Regions from separate parts of the Homo sapiens genome. Here all the other regions are linked to region 2. Evidence: promoter capture Hi-C in 16 types of primary human blood cells and fetal thymus (Javierre and others, 2016). All regions are on one chromosome and are shown on one strand. Each heading gives the region's core, a stretch centred on a gene start or on the middle of the fragment in contact. The rest is flanking DNA. Distances are from core to core; before and after follow the strand shown.

Evidence for each region. The method cuts DNA at HindIII sites, captures the fragments that hold promoters and counts their contacts. A CHiCAGO score of 5 or more calls a contact.
Region 1: a fragment that was not itself captured here is called in contact with the fragment with the promoter of NHLH1 in region 2 in 7 of 17 cell types (erythroblasts, M0 macrophages, naive CD4 T cells and 4 more); the score reaches 6.8 in erythroblasts.
Region 3: a fragment that was not itself captured here is called in contact with the fragment with the promoter of NHLH1 in region 2 in 1 of 17 cell types (naive B cells); the score reaches 5.5 in naive B cells.

What each region holds. Positions count from the first base shown.
Region 1 is chr1:160,101,497-160,104,960 of GRCh38, reverse strand. No RefSeq gene overlaps it. Among named protein-coding and RNA genes, the nearest start is that of IGSF8, 4.6 kb to the right of the region's middle. The HindIII fragment of the contact is 5,335 bases long and covers 1-3,464 here.
Region 2 is chr1:160,365,037-160,368,493 of GRCh38, reverse strand. It overlaps NHLH1 (nescient helix-loop-helix 1), which reads right to left and starts at 1,423. Exons shown (of 2, transcript NM_005598.4): 1 at 1,157-1,423. The HindIII fragment of the contact is 14,453 bases long and covers 1-3,457 here.
Region 3 is chr1:160,677,915-160,681,471 of GRCh38, reverse strand. It overlaps CD48 (CD48 molecule), which reads left to right. Exons shown (of 4, transcript NM_001778.4): 3 at 4-270; 4 at 2,341-2,726. The coding sequence ends at 2,420. Among named protein-coding and RNA genes, the nearest start is that of CD48, 32 kb to the left of the region's middle. RefSeq lists an enhancer at 1-38. The HindIII fragment of the contact is 1,066 bases long and covers 792-1,857 here.

The DNA of each region.
Region 1 (3,464 bases), core at 622-3,121, 260 kb after region 2:
TCCAGCGTCCTTCCCGCCCTACAGGACAGAACTCAGCCCTTCCTAGGCTGCTTAGGAAGCCAGCCTGGTTGTTTCCTGAGGGGTGGAAGGTTCAGGTTCTGAAATAAGAGGAGGAACTTTCTATCAGCTGTAGATGGAAGTGACTAGTGTATGATGGACTCCAGAGGAACTAACAGTGTCCACTGTGGAGGTGACATGACCACAAGAGAGGAAGGGCCCAGATTCCTTCTCTTGTCACTCGGCATGTCCTCACTTCCTCAGTCACACAGCAAATGTCTGTTGAGCTTCTACTCCTTGCCAGGAAACTCTGTAGGCTTTGGGGAAAGGCAAAAAAGAGTTAACAGTGGCTTTGAGAAGCTCACAGCCAGGATGGAGAGGCAGATATAAACAAGCACTGTAATTACAATGCAGAGTGGGAAACTCTACCAAGGAGCTGAGAACAGGGTGCAGTGGGAGCAAGGGGGTGGGTCGCGTTAGCATCAAAACTCTGGGCCCCCGCTCTCTCCCATGGCCAGCTCGGTCACCCCCACTGTTCCATCTGTTTCTTTGTTTTTTCAGAGTCTTTATTTCTGGCTTTGTTTTCCCTTCACTTTCCTAATAGAGAGCCTTTGGAAAAATTCCACCCTTGTTTCAGTTGGAACAGGGAAAAGGAGAATTGTCTACTCTTCAGCCAAAATAACCAAGGGGTGCCGGGTTCCTGGAGAGTCCAGGTGGACAAGCAGAGGAAGCAGGGACTGTCCCGAGGGAGCCAGGGGAGAGCCTGCAGCGCGGCAGGCATGGGGCAGGGAGAGGTGAAAACACAGGATGAGCTGTGCCTGGCTGGAAGGCCCAGGTGGCTGTGTGCCTCGAGTCCTCTTCCAGAGCTCTCTCTGCATCTCCTGTCCTCTGTTCTGATTGGAAGAGAGAGTTGAGACTTCTTCCACTTCAGAGAATCCTGTAAAGCCTGGTTACATTGCTCTTTTCCCACCCAGGTAGCTGTGAAGGGCTGGGACCCCAGAGTTAGAAGTGAGTCTTTGACATTATTCACAGCAGAGGGCTGTGTATGTGTGTGTCTGTGTGTGTGTGTGTGTGTGTGTGTGAAATCCCTCCTTTCCCCTCCCTCTTTCCCCATACCACCACACACACAACGCTCATTGTTCCCTGGGCCTTCAATTCTGCATTCATCCATTCAACACATATTTATTGAACACTCACTATGTGCTGGAAGCTGGAGCTGTGTAGTGGAAAAAGTTATTTCAGAAGGTTGCATAGGCACCAGATATGCATGTGTGTGCCTGAATATATGCACATGTATGTATGAATCAATGTGGGCAGGCTAGGGAAACAGGAGGAAGAAGGGAAGAAGAATGTTTGGGAAACTGAAGTTTGGGCATCAGGTAGCTTGCATTTGCATCTGGGTGCTACCATTTGCTAGCTGTGTGACCTCGGGTAAATTATATGAGCTTTCTGTGCTTCTGTCTCCCAGCTGTAAAATAGAGATACTCGTAGTATTCACCTCATGGGGTTGTTGTGAAAGCTGAATGAATGAATGTGCACAGAGTGTGTGCAACGGTGCCCAGCATGAAGTAGGTGCTCTGTAGGTATTAGTAATTGTTCCCTTCTCACCCCACTCAGAGCTGGGTGGAGACAAACTCGTAAATGACTGGCAGTCACCTGGTGCTACCCACCTCCTGCCCCCTGAGGCTCATCTACAACACTCAGCCCACAAACCTCTGTCTAACCAAACCACTGCCATCTCCTGCCCTTGGCTGACCCCCACCCCACCCTAGGCTGCTCAGGGTAGAGAAGAAGTAATATCACACAGTGGGGGTTGCTTCAGTCCCACGCTACCCTCCAGACATATATCTGAGCTGTCAGTTCCCTCTTAGCAGACTGGGAATGGAGAAGTGGGATGGGTGAGCATCTGGGGCGGAGCCCAGGCTCCCAGCACCCACCCGATGGGACTGGGGAACAAAGAACTTGTCAGGAGGTCAGAAGGGAGACCGAGGGGATTCCAGCTCTGAGGAATCCATGTGTGGCATTTGAGCGTGGGTGGCAGCTGGCACGAATCCTTGGTTCAGAACTGGCAGGGCCCCCTCAGGAGTCAGGGCCAGGTCGTGCCAAAGCCCCAGTGGCATCGCGGCTCTGCTATTCCTGAACAGCTGTGCTGCTCCCCTTGGCATAGGGTTCAAGAATGGGGGCAGGAGTGTGGGCCTAGCCAGGGAAAGAGGAGGGTTCAGAGAGTAGACACACACACACACACACACACACACACACACACACACACACACAGTTCACCATGAAGGTGCAGATGCCTGGCTCAGGGAGAAAAGAGGGGAGGGAGAGGGTGGAAAGCGAATGTGTGTGTGTGTGTCGGGGGGGAGATGGCTTTGTGGTTCTGTGAGTGTGTTTGGTGTTTGGGTGTGCATAATGTCTCTGTGTTTATCTTTGTGTGTGCACTTCTGTTTCAGTGTGTCTCTGAATGAGTTTGTTATCAGGGCGAGGGTAGGTTTCTGCACTACTTCTGTCTCTGACTCTGCTTGAGCCTCTCAGCAACTCAGCAGAGAGAATCTTCCCTTCTGGGAGGGTGGGAAAATATAGCTCATCAGGGCAGTATGGGCCAATGCTTTATAAACACACACAAATCACAGGACATTCTTGTGTGTGATCCTTAGCTCCCCACAAAGCTACGGTTGATACACATTTAAAAGAGAGAGAGCTGAGTCCTATGTGTATGCTTGTGCCATTTCTATATGTCTGACAGTCTGACGAGCATGTGTGCTTATGTATTTGATGTATTTGTCACTTTGTCCCCACGGCAGTATCTGTGTCTACAGCTTGGTGTATACTCATGTGTGCTAAGCCCATATTTAACTGTGTCCCTAGTGACGTTTGTCTTTAAGCAGCAACATAACAGGAGTTAGAAGCACAGGCTCCACAGTGAGGCGATCCATTTCGAATCCCTGTGTGGACAGTAACTAATGCATTAACCTTGGACAAGTTTCTTAACTTTTCTATGCCTCAGTTTTCTCACAGGGATAATAATAGCACATGAGGATAAATGAGATCACATTTAGTGCCTGACACAGGTCAGCATATGTGAATGGTCCTGTCTTTGAACGTGCTCCTCTCTGAGAGCTGTCTGCTTGGTTGTGACTGTGGTGTGTCACATCTCAGCTGGATTATAAACTGCTTTTGGGCAGAGCGTGGGTCTCAATTATCTTTAACAATACTCATGACACCTCAGTGTCACCTTGGTGTCTTGTGTATATGTCATCTTGAGGTGAAATGAGACCTGTTTCATGTGAAACAGGACGGGTGTCGGATGCAGGCCCATGCCTGGGGTAGTACATGGAGGGCAGGTGGGAAGCTGGTGATGGCAGTGACAACACAGCCCAGCCGGGCATCAGGGTCCCTCATGGTCACTACTGCATACCTGCCAGGTCTCTCTGCAAACCCAGGCTCCCTCCTCCTTCGTGTCTCAG
Region 2 (3,457 bases), core at 174-2,673:
AGGGAACATAATCAACCTTCTACCCCCATACTCTCCCATAGCCCAAGGAAGGTTCAGACACGGCCTGCAGAGGACACAGACAGATTTTTGGAGCTACCCTTATGGGACTCAGCTAAGGTTTGCTTGTCCTAGGACCAGAGGAGATCAGGGCAAGGCAGCACAAACATGGCCTGGGAAAAGCTGGGGAAAGGGCTTTGCTTGTGTGCAGTGTTAAAGGGGAACAGTGGGCCACTCACCATCAGCTCAACTAAGAATGATTAGAAACAGAAGCACCAAGGTGCCTGCACCATCACTATCTCCCCTTCCTCCCCAGCCCTGGCTTTCCTGTCTGATAGATACTCTCAAAGGGGTTAGGATCCTCCCAAGCCTTGCCCCACCCCACCACACAGAAGATAGGTTCAAGTCAAGCCAACAAACAGCTATGAAGCTCTGGAGGGATGCAAAGTCATCCACATCTGATGACAAGTACACACACAATCTTAACAGGAAACAGAAGGTGGTTAGTGCTGAAATTGAGAACACATTCCATATTCTGGGGTTCAAATGAACTATGGGGGGATGGCAATAGTGTGGGAGGCCCCAAAGTCAGCACCTCCCAGTACATGTTTAGTGCCCCCAACTCCCCACCCCCCATGCTGGGGCTGGGAGCAGGAGTTCAGCTGCGGAGTTCCCAACACATTTATCACATCTATCACAGGCTAATTCTCTCTGCCCGGTCCCTATGTTCCTTCATCCCTCATCACTTTGCCATGCCCTTCCTTCCCCTCTCCGTGCTCCCCATCTGGCCCCAGTCTCATCTCCACCTGGCCCCATTGTCCTCCCCAGTTCCAGTCCCGGCAGCAGCTTCTATTTACCCATCAAGTCCTCACCCCCAAATCCACTTCTGGTCTCAAAGTTCCAGGGTCCAAGGATCAGGGGAGCAGCAATTCCAAGCCTGCAGGACAGGACTTCCCACCCCACTTCTGCCAGCCCTAACCCAACTGAGGATAGATAGGCACAAAGAGTCGAAGGGGAGGAGTGGAGAAGAGGGACACGCGGAGACAGGGAGAGACACAGCGCACAAGGGAGAGAACTAGAGGGAGGCTCTAGGAAGGGGCTTGAGCCAGAGAATGGGAGGGACACGCCCATCCCTCCCCGCCCATGGTTTCCCCTTTACCTAGAAGGACCCTGTCAGGGGATCCAAGCCGGCAGGACAAGGGGCAGCGTTGACAGCCCCAGTCTCCTCTGGGTGCTCAAGGCTCATCCGTCTGCAAAGTTAGTGACCAGCTTTCTAGACTCTCAGGGGTAGCGTGGCATGGCTGTACAGGCTCCAGGGCAGATAAGAGGGGTACACATTGTGGGGGTGTAGGGCCCAGGTGGAAGTGGTGGGCTTGGCCAGGTACTGGGGCCAGCCACACTCACACACACACCCTCAGACACACACACCTGAGCTGGCCCAGCCCTATGTATATATATGGAGATACACACACACACCCCCAGCTCTCCATTGGCTGGCCCAGGCCCACCCCCCCCTCATCAATATTAAACAGCCAGGCCAGGCAGCCATTGGCAGAGGGATCTGGGAACCCCTCGGGAGCTGGGGGCGGGGGCTGGCCCTGGGTGGGGGCGGGGAGCGGGGGAGCAGGGACATCTGTTCTCCATGCATATTTCATAAGCAAGAAATGGAGAGCTGGGGAAGGGGTGGGGCTGGGGCGAGAGCCAGGGCAGGACCACAGATGAACCCCCTCAGTCTCCCACACCAGAGGCAGCAGGGCAGAGGCTCCCAGCAAGCTATGGTTAAGTGCCATGGCCCCATTCGGAGTCCCAGCGTGACTTGGACAGCCCCTTCCTGGTGTCTCTTTTTTCCTGAGAGGGAGACTCTTCAAGGTACTAACAGGGAAACCGAGAAAAGAGCAAGTGGGTAGCACTAAAATGCAGAAGAGGACCCTAGGGTCCTGGCCCTCAAGCTCTTATCCTTCATAAAGCTGGTACCCACTGCTTGCCAGCCTGCCTGTAGCAACTGTTCAGGCCCCTACCCTCATCACCCTGGGACTCAATCACCCCCATACCCTCTTACCCCACCCGCTATCTTCCTACCTAACCCATCACCAAGGGGAGGAGCAGGATCAAATTTGGGACACAGACCCCACAAGGAGTTTTTCTAGGCTGGCCAGCCCAACCTGACCCACTGGGAATTAGAGGGCTCTTAGGAAGAAAGAGGTAAGGGCTAAAAGGAGAGGAGTGGAGGAGTGCCAAGACAGGAAGAACCAGGATTGGAAGGACACTGGGAGAGGAGGGCAGGGCAGCCTAGGCAGGCTCTGAGTGTGTTTTGAGGGCATCAAATCAGCAATAAGAAAACCAGACACAAAATTATATGCAAATGGGCACTGATTAAGCTCCCATCAATAGCTCAGCAGCCTCCAGCATGTATATGCAAGTGTGTGTGAATGTGAATGTAAGTGTGAGTGTGTGTGTGTATGTGTGTGTTGCCGAGTGGCAGGATTGAGGAGGGGCAGCACAGGGACCAGAGTGCATAGAGAGACAGTGCATAGAGGGTTTCAGTGTCTGAAGTTCTCTCCCCACTCAGCTGTTGGATGTCTTCTCTGAACCTTTGAGAGTATTCAAAAGAACCATGACTGGAGAGGACTCCAGAGGTAGTGTGGTACAGTGAAAAAGGCTCTGTCAGCTGTGTGACCTTGGACAAATAACAACCTTTTGAGCCTGGACCTCTTTTCCTGTAAAATGGGGTTGATTATAGCTGCTTCTTAGGTTGCCATGGAAATTAAGGGAGATAATATGTGTAGTGGGCCTAGAGCTTAGTAGGAGCACATCCCACCTTCAGGCTGGAGGGACTTGCCATTTCCCTGTTGCTGGTCAACCTTTTCTGGGCTTTCTCCAGGGTGAAGCATTCCCTAAGGGGGTCCCATAATTCCTCCCCAAGCTCCCCCACCTGCCCCCATCCCTGAGTCTGGGAGGTGCCAACTCCCACCTGGGCAGGCCCAGACAGGTGCCCAGGCGCCAGCAGATGGGCTGAGCTGGAGGGGAAAGGAGGCTTGAGGAGGGGGGCTGGGGGGCAGGGGATCAGGTGGCATCTCAGTTCTTGCATCATCATTGCCATGGTGCTGATTAAAAACCAATCTCCACCTAATGAGCCCCCAGCAACAACAATTCTACCTCCTCCACTCTCCTGCCCTCCACCCCATCCAAGAAATTGGGAGACCAAGAGACTCAGGAGAGAGTGCCATGGGGGAGATGAGAGATACAGAAAGAAGGGGAGATGAACAGAGACAGGGGAAGCGGAGGGAAACGACGAGAAAGACACGGGAAGATACCGAGACTCAGGGAGAGAAAAAAATGAGAAACCAGAGTCATTGGGTAACAGACATGGGAAAGACATAGGGAAATGGGAAGACACAGTCTCATGGGGAGATTGAGACACAAAGGAGGTAAAAAGATTTAAAAAAAAAAAAAAAAAAAA
Region 3 (3,557 bases), core at 75-2,574, 310 kb before region 2:
CAGACCCTGTACCCAAGCCTGTCATCAAAATTGAGAAGATAGAAGACATGGATGACAACTGTTATCTGAAACTGTCATGTGTGATACCTGGCGAGTCTGTAAACTACACCTGGTATGGGGACAAAAGGCCCTTCCCAAAGGAGCTCCAGAACAGTGTGCTTGAAACCACCCTTATGCCACATAATTACTCCAGGTGTTATACTTGCCAAGTCAGCAATTCTGTGAGCAGCAAGAATGGCACGGTCTGCCTCAGTCCACCCTGTACCCTGGGTAAGAAGGATCCCTGGGAGCTGAGGGGGGCACAGGGTAACTGGAGTTGTTTTGAACAAAGAAAGGCTGGGGGTCCTATTCAGCCTCCTTGCACAGTGTGGTGGTGAATCCCTAAGGTGTCTGGGAGAGCTGGGAGACGTGGGTTCTGCCACCAGCTCTACCACCACCTCCCAGCCAGCTTACCTCAACTTCGTGGGGGCTCAGTGTTCTCACCTGCAAAGGACGTTTGGGAGAGATCTCTGATACTCCTCTTCCCTCTCCCGCTCTAACAAAGCATAGTCCTAACATCTGAGGCCAGGGTCATCATAGAGTAGACTGAAACATCAGGGTGAGCAGGGAGAAGGAAGGGCAAGTGGGCGAGCAGCTGTCTAGAGGGGCTTCATTAGACAGCCGAAGTCAGCCAAGGAAAGAGGGACCGAGGTCATTAGACCGCCAAAGTCAGCCAGGGAAAGAGGGACTGAGGAGACGGGCCTGAGAGAGGCCGTCGAGGAGGCGTGAGAGCCTGAGCCTCAGGCGAAGCTTCTCCTCCCCAGCCTGATGTTCCTAGATGAACTTAGGAAGCCAGATTCCCCTGTCTCCTGGGAGGATCCACTCATGAGTGTCACACCTGGCTCTAGATCAGGCCTACACTGGTGCTAGCATGGGACAGCTAAGGCCATGGGTTTTAGAGTCAGTCATACCTGGGGTCACTTCTAGGACTGTCACTTACTAGCTAAACAAGTTACTTAGCTTCCCCAAGTCATGTTCTTCCTAAATAAAGGACAAAATAACAGTTCCTATCTCGTGCTAAGGATTCAATGAGACAAGACACGTAACTGCCTATCACAGTGGCTGACAAGTCCTTAGTAAGCGGGAGCTAAATGAGACGCAGTCTCTTAGAGTTTTGGGGACCCTTAATAAACTTGGATCAATATCTCCAGCACTCTGGGAAATACCAGAGTCAGATACCCTCCACAATCCTGAAGTCAGATCCCTGAGCCCTAGCGTACACATTCTTCTAGAATAACTCAGACCTGAGGTGCTCACATTCACCTGTGACCCCTGTCATGCCCAGTCATCAGGGATTCTGGCCTCTGAGAACGTTGCTGTTTTGTGGTCTTCCTGGGCTCTGTCTACCCTCCTTAACTGCACTGATTTCTTTATCTCTACTCCCACATGTGGACTACGGAGACTGTGTATGCTCTTCCTTATTCTTCCTAACTAATTGGCCCTGTCTCTACCAGCCTCTCCTGATATGCCTTGCTCTTCTGCCACCACAGACCCACTGTGACAGTGTGGTATCTGACCATGAGAACACAATTTGGCTGGTGGTTCCAACACCACCCTCATATCAATATCACATCCTGAGATCCAGAAAAAGGAAGACGCACATTCCCTGTCCTCTATAAAATGGGTGTGACTGTTCATCCGAAGAGAGGATAAAAGCAATAATAAATCCATTTTTTTTGGAAGGGTAAACCCATCTGTCACTTTTTAGTCACCGAAATTATCCTAGAAAGCCCCCTCAAACTCCTTTCCCTACTGTATCACTCATTCCTTTTTTTTATTTTCTCCAGCTCAGCCCTTCCCCACCCCAGCATCTAAGCTTTCCTTCCATCCTTTTTCTTTTCCTTTCCTTTTCTGTCTTCCTTTCTCTTCCCTTCTTCTTCCTAGTTGGTGCAGATACTTAGTGGGGTAGAGAAACAAGGAAAGGAAGTGGTCCTTTTCTCTCTAAAGTCAGCTGTGCATTGTATCATGTGGTCATCTGTCTGTACCTGAAGATCTACCCTACCTCGTTGATGTCCAGAGTAGGGGAGCAATGCTTTCCCAGGCCACAGATATGTCGAGGTAACCTTTGAGCACAGGGCCCAGGTAAGCCAGTGATATTTAAGGAATTTCTGCATTTTTTATACTTTATGTTTGGGGAGATTGAGGAAAAGAATGTCCCAGCCAAATAGGATGGGATTCAGGGAAGAAATTAATTTCCCTGCTCTGTGAGCTCCCACACCAGTGTCCAGTACACTTGCCCCTTCTCAATACATTAGTCAAGATAAAGATACCTAAGCATATAGGGTTTTCTTGCTCTTTCAGCCCGGTCCTTTGGAGTAGAATGGATTGCAAGTTGGCTAGTGGTCACGGTGCCCACCATTCTTGGCCTGTTACTTACCTGAGATGAGCTCTTTTAACTCAAGCGAAACTTCAAGGCCAGAAGATCTTGCCTGTTGGTGATCATGCTCCTCACCAGGACAGAGACTGTATAGGCTGACCAGAAGCATGCTGCTGAATTATCAACGAGGATTTTCAAGTTAACTTTTAAATACTGGTTATTATTTAATTTTATATCCCTTTGTTGTTTTCTAGTACACAGAGATATAGAGATACACATGCTTTTTTCCCACCCAAAATTGTGACAACATTATGTGAATGTTTTATTATTTTTTAAAATAAACATTTGATATAATTGTCAATTAACTGAATTCCTGAAGTTGTCCCAAATCTGTCAGACAGTGCCTGCTCCATCAGCTGGGAGAAACTGGAATCTGGAGACACAGAGGGGAGAGCCTGGAGCCACCGGCTCCTGTGTGTCAACACAGCTGAGGAGCCAATTTGTGCTACTTCTGACCCTTATTCCAACATCCATGCTAAGCTTCCTGGGGCTCCAGCTCCCCTGCCAAGCCTTTGCCTCCTTCCCAGTGGCTTGCCTTGCTCTGACCCCTCTGAGGACCACTCTCCTTAAGTCTGCTGCAAACATAGGTTCAGGCTTGCTCTCGCAGAAGGAAGGATGCAGCTCTATCTCATAAGAAGCCTTCCTGCCCCACAAGCCTCGCATAGGGAGCTGAATTCTCTCTCCTCTTTTCCATTGACTGTGTGGGCAAGTCTTCAACTCCTAGTCGTTTCACTGGATCCAAAAAAACCATCAGATCGACACAGTGTTCTCACCAGAGTTGTCCACTATATGCAGGTAGGCGCCCCCAGGCCCACCACTGACATAACACCTGGGATTTTTGCTTAATGTCCCCTCCTCTAAGTCTCCTCATGTGCCTGGAGCTGAAAGGGTCACTACAGAATGCACTTCCCCTTCAGAAAACTGCCCACCACAGACTGCTTGCCTTTCAAACCAGACCAGCCTCCCCCATCTCCCTCGTGGCCCTTCCCTCCTCACCCCATCTCCTCGGTGACAGATACAGTGCTATGTGTTTGCCAAACCTTCTCATTTTCCCCTGGGTGAGTGAAAAAACTCTTTTTCCCAGCTACTTTTGTGTTTAGCTGGAGCCATGTGATGAAATCTGTCCAATAGAAAGTGGGCG